2 separate regions of the Homo sapiens genome follow, and region 2 is linked to region 1. Evidence: promoter capture Hi-C in human tissues and cell types (Jung and others, 2019). All regions are on one chromosome and are shown on one strand. Each heading gives the region's core, a stretch centred on a gene start or on the middle of the fragment in contact. The rest is flanking DNA. Distances are from core to core; before and after follow the strand shown. Region 1 holds the start of NPY (neuropeptide Y). Region 2 overlaps LOC107986777 (a long non-coding RNA gene).

What was found. The method cuts DNA at HindIII sites, captures the fragments that hold promoters and counts their contacts. A contact is called where the count stands out against the background at its distance.
Region 2: a contact is called between a fragment that was not itself captured here and the fragment with the promoter of NPY in region 1, in 1 of the 25 tissues and cell types used here (hippocampus).

What each region holds. Positions count from the first base shown.
Region 1 is chr7:24,282,527-24,285,571 of GRCh38, forward strand. NPY (neuropeptide Y) reads left to right here and starts at 1,664. Exons shown (of 4, transcript NM_000905.4): 1 at 1,664-1,749; 2 at 2,715-2,902. The coding sequence starts at 2,715. The region is part of intron 2 of LOC107986777 (a long non-coding RNA gene); the gene reads right to left. The HindIII fragment of the contact is 14,633 bases long and covers 1-3,045 here.
Region 2 is chr7:24,230,928-24,234,001 of GRCh38, forward strand. All of the region lies in intron 2 of LOC107986777 (a long non-coding RNA gene), which reads right to left. Among named protein-coding and RNA genes, the nearest start is that of NPY, 52 kb to the right of the region's middle. The HindIII fragment of the contact is 4,172 bases long and covers 1-3,074 here.

The sequences.
Region 1 (3,045 bases), core at 414-2,913:
GGTGTGGGCCTTCCTAGAAGTAATTTTTCCCAAATTCAGTGATACATTTTAAGTTCAGATTTTAATTGATATGAATCTGTGATACACTCTAAAATAAGATTATTTTATTGAAAAGTGGACTGTAACTTTCCCTTTATCTAGGAAGAGCTCTAAGTTAGAAGATGTTTTGCACTTTTACCGAAGGCTGTGTCTTGTAAGCACCCCCGAGCAACTCTGAGAGCCTTGATTTTTGTGTCCTCAGCATATGTTTGTGTAATACAGAAAGAGAAGCAGTTGCCAAGTGAAAGGGATGTTGGTCTCCAAAATTATAGTTTGATCCCACAAACACACAAACACATACATGCAAAGGATTGTTTGCTTCACGGTTTTTGATATTTAATTCAATGCTGTTGGAACAGCACAAAAACTAAGTGTCAGTTTAACAGAATCACTTGTCCTTTTAGCATTAAAATAACATGGAACTTAATGCTTTAATTTCCCAACATGCCTTTTTATTTAGAAAGATTCAGACTTATATTTCATTTAGAAATAAAATGCCATTTTATTTAGAAAGATACAGGAGCATTCATTCACGGAACTTTCAGATCTCAGTCCACTGCATAAAATCTTGATCCTGTAATAATAGTTTCTGTATCTTGCATATTCATTCAACAGGTTTAACGCGATGAGCAAATTAATGTTCATCGTTTTTAACATGTTTCATCTTAATCAGAACCCACATTCTCAACGTTAATTGAACGTACATAGGACTATACAAGGGTTAGTAAATAAGACAGAAACTGTTGTTCATTTAACCACCGTCACTTTGGACCAAAAAAGAAAAAATATATATTTTTAAAATTGAGCTTAAAAGAGTCTCTAGAAGCTGGAAGCGTGGCTCTTTTTCAGCAAACTGGGGGAATAGGTTTACCGTGTTCCCCCTCTGGGGAATTTTGAGTCGCCACACTCATGTCTCGACCGAGCCTGGCTCGCTGCGTCTGAGCGAGTACTTGAGGAAGGCTGATCTAGAAAAACCAGCTGAGAGAAGGGGCAGAAGCCCCTGAAACCACGGGCGGGGGTGGGGTGGGGAGCGCAGCTTTGGGACCCTCTAGCCGGAGACTTCCGGCAGCTGCCTCCGACTTGTTCTAAGTACAGGAAAAATCTGTGCGCCCAGTTGCCTCACTCCAACAGCGCGCAGTTGTGCCCGGCGAGGATGCCGCGCTAGTCGTGGAGATGCCCCACCACAAAGAGGATTCAGGTGCTTCCTACTCCGGCACCCAGTGGGTTGGTAGTCCTGTTGGCAGGAGACAAGAATCGTCTGGGCTGCTCCTATCTCTGGCAGGACTAGACGGGGCGTGAAGGAAAGAAGGAAAGAAGGAAAGCAGGGATCGGGCACTGCCCGAGGGCAGATACTTGGGCTTTGGTGTTGTCCAGCGCGCTCGGAGTGCGCTGCCTCGCTCACGCGGTCCCAGGCCCCGCTTCTTCAGGCAGTGCCTGGGGCGGGAGGGTTGGGGTGTGGGTGGCTCCCTAAGTCGACACTCGTGCGGCTGCGGTTCCAGCCCCCTCCCCCCGCCACTCAGGGGCGGGAAGTGGCGGGTGGGAGTCACCCAAGCGTGACTGCCCGAGGCCCCTCCTGCCGCGGCGAGGAAGCTCCATAAAAGCCCTGTCGCGACCCGCTCTCTGCACCCCATCCGCTGGCTCTCACCCCTCGGAGACGCTCGCCCGACAGCATAGTACTTGCCGCCCAGCCACGCCCGCGCGCCAGCCACCGTGAGTGCTACGACCCGTCTGTCTAGGGGTGGGAGCGAACGGGGCGCCCGCGAACTTGCTAGAGACGCAGCCTCCCGCTCTGTGGAGCCCTGGGGCCCTGGGATGATCGCGCTCCACTCCCCAGCGGACTATGCCGGCTCCGCGCCCCGACGCGGACCAGCCCTCTTGGCGGCTAAATTCCACTTGTTCCTCTGCTCCCCTCTGATTGTCCACGGCCCTTCTCCCGGGCCCTTCCCGCTGGGCGGTTCTTCTGAGTTACCTTTTAGCAGATATGGAGGGAGAACCCGGGACCGCTATCCCAAGGCAGCTGGCGGTCTCCCTGCGGGTCGCCGCCTTGAGGCCCAGGAAGCGGTGCGCGGTAGGAAGGTTTCCCCGGCAGCGCCATCGAGTGAGGAATCCCTGGAGCTCTAGAGCCCCGCGCCCTGCCACCTCCCTGGATTCTTGGGCTCCAAATCTCTTTGGAGCAATTCTGGCCCAGGGAGCAATTCTCTTTCCCCTTCCCCACCGCAGTCGTCACCCCGAGGTGATCTCTGCTGTCAGCGTTGATCCCCTGAAGCTAGGCAGACCAGAAGTAACAGAGAAGAAACTTTTCTTCCCAGACAAGAGTTTGGGCAAGAAGGGAGAAAAGTGACCCAGCAGGAAGAACTTCCAATTCGGTTTTGAATGCTAAACTGGCGGGGCCCCCACCTTGCACTCTCGCCGCGCGCTTCTTGGTCCCTGAGACTTCGAACGAAGTTGCGCGAAGTTTTCAGGTGGAGCAGAGGGGCAGGTCCCGACCGGACGGCGCCCGGAGCCCGCAAGGTGGTGCTAGCCACTCCTGGGTTCTCTCTGCGGGACTGGGACGAGAGCGGATTGGGGGTCGCGTGTGGTAGCAGGAGGAGGAGCGCGGGGGGCAGAGGAGGGAGGTGCTGCGCGTGGGTGCTCTGAATCCCCAAGCCCGTCCGTTGAGCCTTCTGTGCCTGCAGATGCTAGGTAACAAGCGACTGGGGCTGTCCGGACTGACCCTCGCCCTGTCCCTGCTCGTGTGCCTGGGTGCGCTGGCCGAGGCGTACCCCTCCAAGCCGGACAACCCGGGCGAGGACGCACCAGCGGAGGACATGGCCAGATACTACTCGGCGCTGCGACACTACATCAACCTCATCACCAGGCAGAGGTGGGTGGGACCGCGGGACCGATTCCGGGAGCGCCAGTGCCTGCACACCAGGAGATCCTGGGGATGTTAGGGAAAGGGATTGTTTCTTTTCCTTCGCTCTATCCCAGGGCAGGACAGTATCAGGCACTTAGTCAGCTCTAGGT
Region 2 (3,074 bases), core at 119-2,618, 52 kb before region 1:
ATTTTTATATTTTTAGTAGAGACAGGGTTTTACCATGTTGCCCAGGCTGGTCTCAAACTCCTGAGCTCAAGTCATCCACCTGCCTCTACCTCCCAAAGTTCTGGTATTACAAGCATGAGCCACTGCACCAGCCTATATTGATTTCTATATGAATTAACAAAGAAAATCTTGGCCATGACTACACAGATAGATTAGCAGTGGAAATGATGCTTTCCTAGCCAATGCAAATACTAAATATTAAAACATATGTGGCTGAGGTGGAGACAGAGCGATTACAAGGTATCCTTGTATCATTGACGAAGGAGAATAAAGAGCAAGAGCCAGAGGCCTCGGGATTCCGAAGCATAATCCTGGCTCATTCCCTGACTTTTTTCCTTTACAAACACTGGAAAACAAATAGTGCAGTGAGATTCCCTATCTCAATTCATTGGAACTGACTTGCTACTTCTAGGTCAAGCCAAATGGATTAGAGAACAAACTAGGTAGGCCATAGGAATGTCTACGGGGGATCAATTTTTTTTCTCCTGTGCCATTTGAATTGGGGGCTTGACTGAGCCTTTAGACACTCCATCCAAAAGATGTCTCTTGTGAGGGCATTGGCTTTCTTCTCTAAAGAGAGGTTAACAATATATCCTCTATAACAGAAGTTTGGAGGAATAATTAATAATAATAATAATAAATTGTTCAAAAGCTAAGCACCAATCATGAAAAAAAGTTTATCTTGGTAGCCATTAGCTTTAAGCATGCACTTCTGGCAAACCACCAGAAAAATGCCATACTTTTATCTTGCTGGTGTGTGTGCTTGGAAATAGAGGAATTTTCTTTGGCAGAAAATTCCTAGAAAAATTTTATTTTCAAAGACTAGCCAGTTCTGGGTCAGACAGAGGAAGCATACCACACCTTGTGTCTCCTGCTGAATGCAGTTACAAATCTTGGAAAGAAGGCAGTGAGGAGTAATTTGAGGGCTCCGGGAAATAAGTGCTTTGCAGAAAATGTAAGCCATTAAATGCTTATATTAGAAAAGAAAAAAGTCTCAAATCAACAATGGAAATTTCTCCTTAAGAAAGTAGAAAATAAGAGCAAAATAAAACTAAGCAAACAGAAGAAAAAAAATAAATGGCAGAAGTAAATGAAGTTGAAAACAGAAAAGCAAAACTAGTGAGACAAAAGCTTGGTTTTTTTGGAAAGAGCAACAAAAATGGTAAGTTTTTAGCAAGACTGATAGAAAAAGGAGAGAAAGAGAAAAGAGACAAAAAAGAAACAAATTACCATGATCATAAATGAAAGAGAGGAAATCATTACAAGCCCCACAGACATTAAAAGGATAGCAAGCAATACGACAGGCAACTCTACACATATAAATATGGCAACTTAGATTTAATGAGGTAATTCCTCAAACTATCAAAACTCATCTTTGATGAAATAGATAACCTGAATAGTACTATATCTGTACTTTTATCAAAAAATAAATAAAATAAATAATTTATCTACAAATAAATTTTTAGATAAAGACCTCCTGAAAAAGTAATCTCCAGGCCCAAATGGTTTGGTGGGCAAATTCTATCAAACATTTAAAGAAGAAATAACATTAATTCTACACATTCTCTTCCAGAAAACAAAAGAAGAGGGAACATTTCACAACTCATTTTATGAAGCCAGCATTACCTTGGTACCAAAACTGGGCAAAGACAGTACAATAAAATTTCAGACCAGTATCCTTCATGAACATAGACACAAACACAATCAACAAAATATTTCAGCAACATTCATCAACAAATTCAAATCCAACAATACATTAAAAGGAACAATACACCATGGCAAGGGCAATTTATCCCAAGAATGTAAGGTTTGTTCATCAAAAATGAATCAATGGAACTGTCAAACTATCAGTATGAAGAAGAAAGAAACACATGATCATATTAATTGAAGCAGAAAAAGCATTTGGCAAACTAGAACATGTATTCATGGTAAAAACTTTCAGCAAACTAAGAATAAAAGAGAACTTCCCCAACTCTGTAAAGGGTGTCTACAAAAACCCTACAGCTAACATCCTACTCCATGCTGAAAGACTGAATGCCCCTTAATTCAGAATAAGACAAAGATATTCTCTTCCACCATCCAAATGTTCTTCAACTAATGGATGAATAAATAGGCCGTGGTAGATACATACAATGAAATTGTACTCAGCAGTAAAAAGGAACAAGCTATTGATACACATGACAGCCTGGATAACACTATGCTTAGTAAAAGGAAGCTAGTCTCAAAAATTTACAGATTGTATTATTCTATTTATTTGATGGTCTCAAAAAAAGCACTGGAAGACAGGTCAGAGGTTGCCAGGGATTATAGGTGGGGAAGGTGATGACCACAAAATACAGCATGAGGTGCTTTACTGAGGTGGTAGAGCTGTTCTTTATCCTGATTATGGCAGTGTTCACATGAATCTATACATGTGTTAAAATTCATAGAAATGTACACCAAAAAAGAAAAAAAGCATCCCTGAGAAATCCTTTAGGCCACCTGCATTTGTTCAAACAGGAGGATATGGAAGCCATTTCAGCCAGAATATATTGCTGGGGAAACAAATTCCATGACCTCTCCTGGCGCTAGTCCTAGAACCATCCAGCCTCCTGCCAACCACCACCTTCCTTTTCAGCGTCTCTTTCTCTGCCTCCTTCCTGCCATCTGCATCTCTGTGTGTTCACCTCCAAATCTGCTCCCAGAAAATATTCTTGTGTCAACCACTGGATATGAGTCAGTGAGTTACCTTGTTCCAAGTTGTCTGCATATTAAGTCTTCATTTTAAATACCTAATCAGAGTCTCTCCTTTAAGGGCATTCCAGGCACCTAAGAGCAGAAAGGAGTTGTTTTGGGAAATCCTTCCAGTGCCCATGAAATCACTTATGTAGGCAGCTGCCTATGGATAATGTTGGCCCCACTGCTGACTTTTTGGAACTTTCCATTGTTCTCAGCATTGCCTTTAAATTCGGGTTTTTTTGTTTGTTTGTTTTTTCCCACATGTCATAAAATGGCAGCCAGCAGAAATCAAGGCTCTGTGCCTCCTTACTCATATT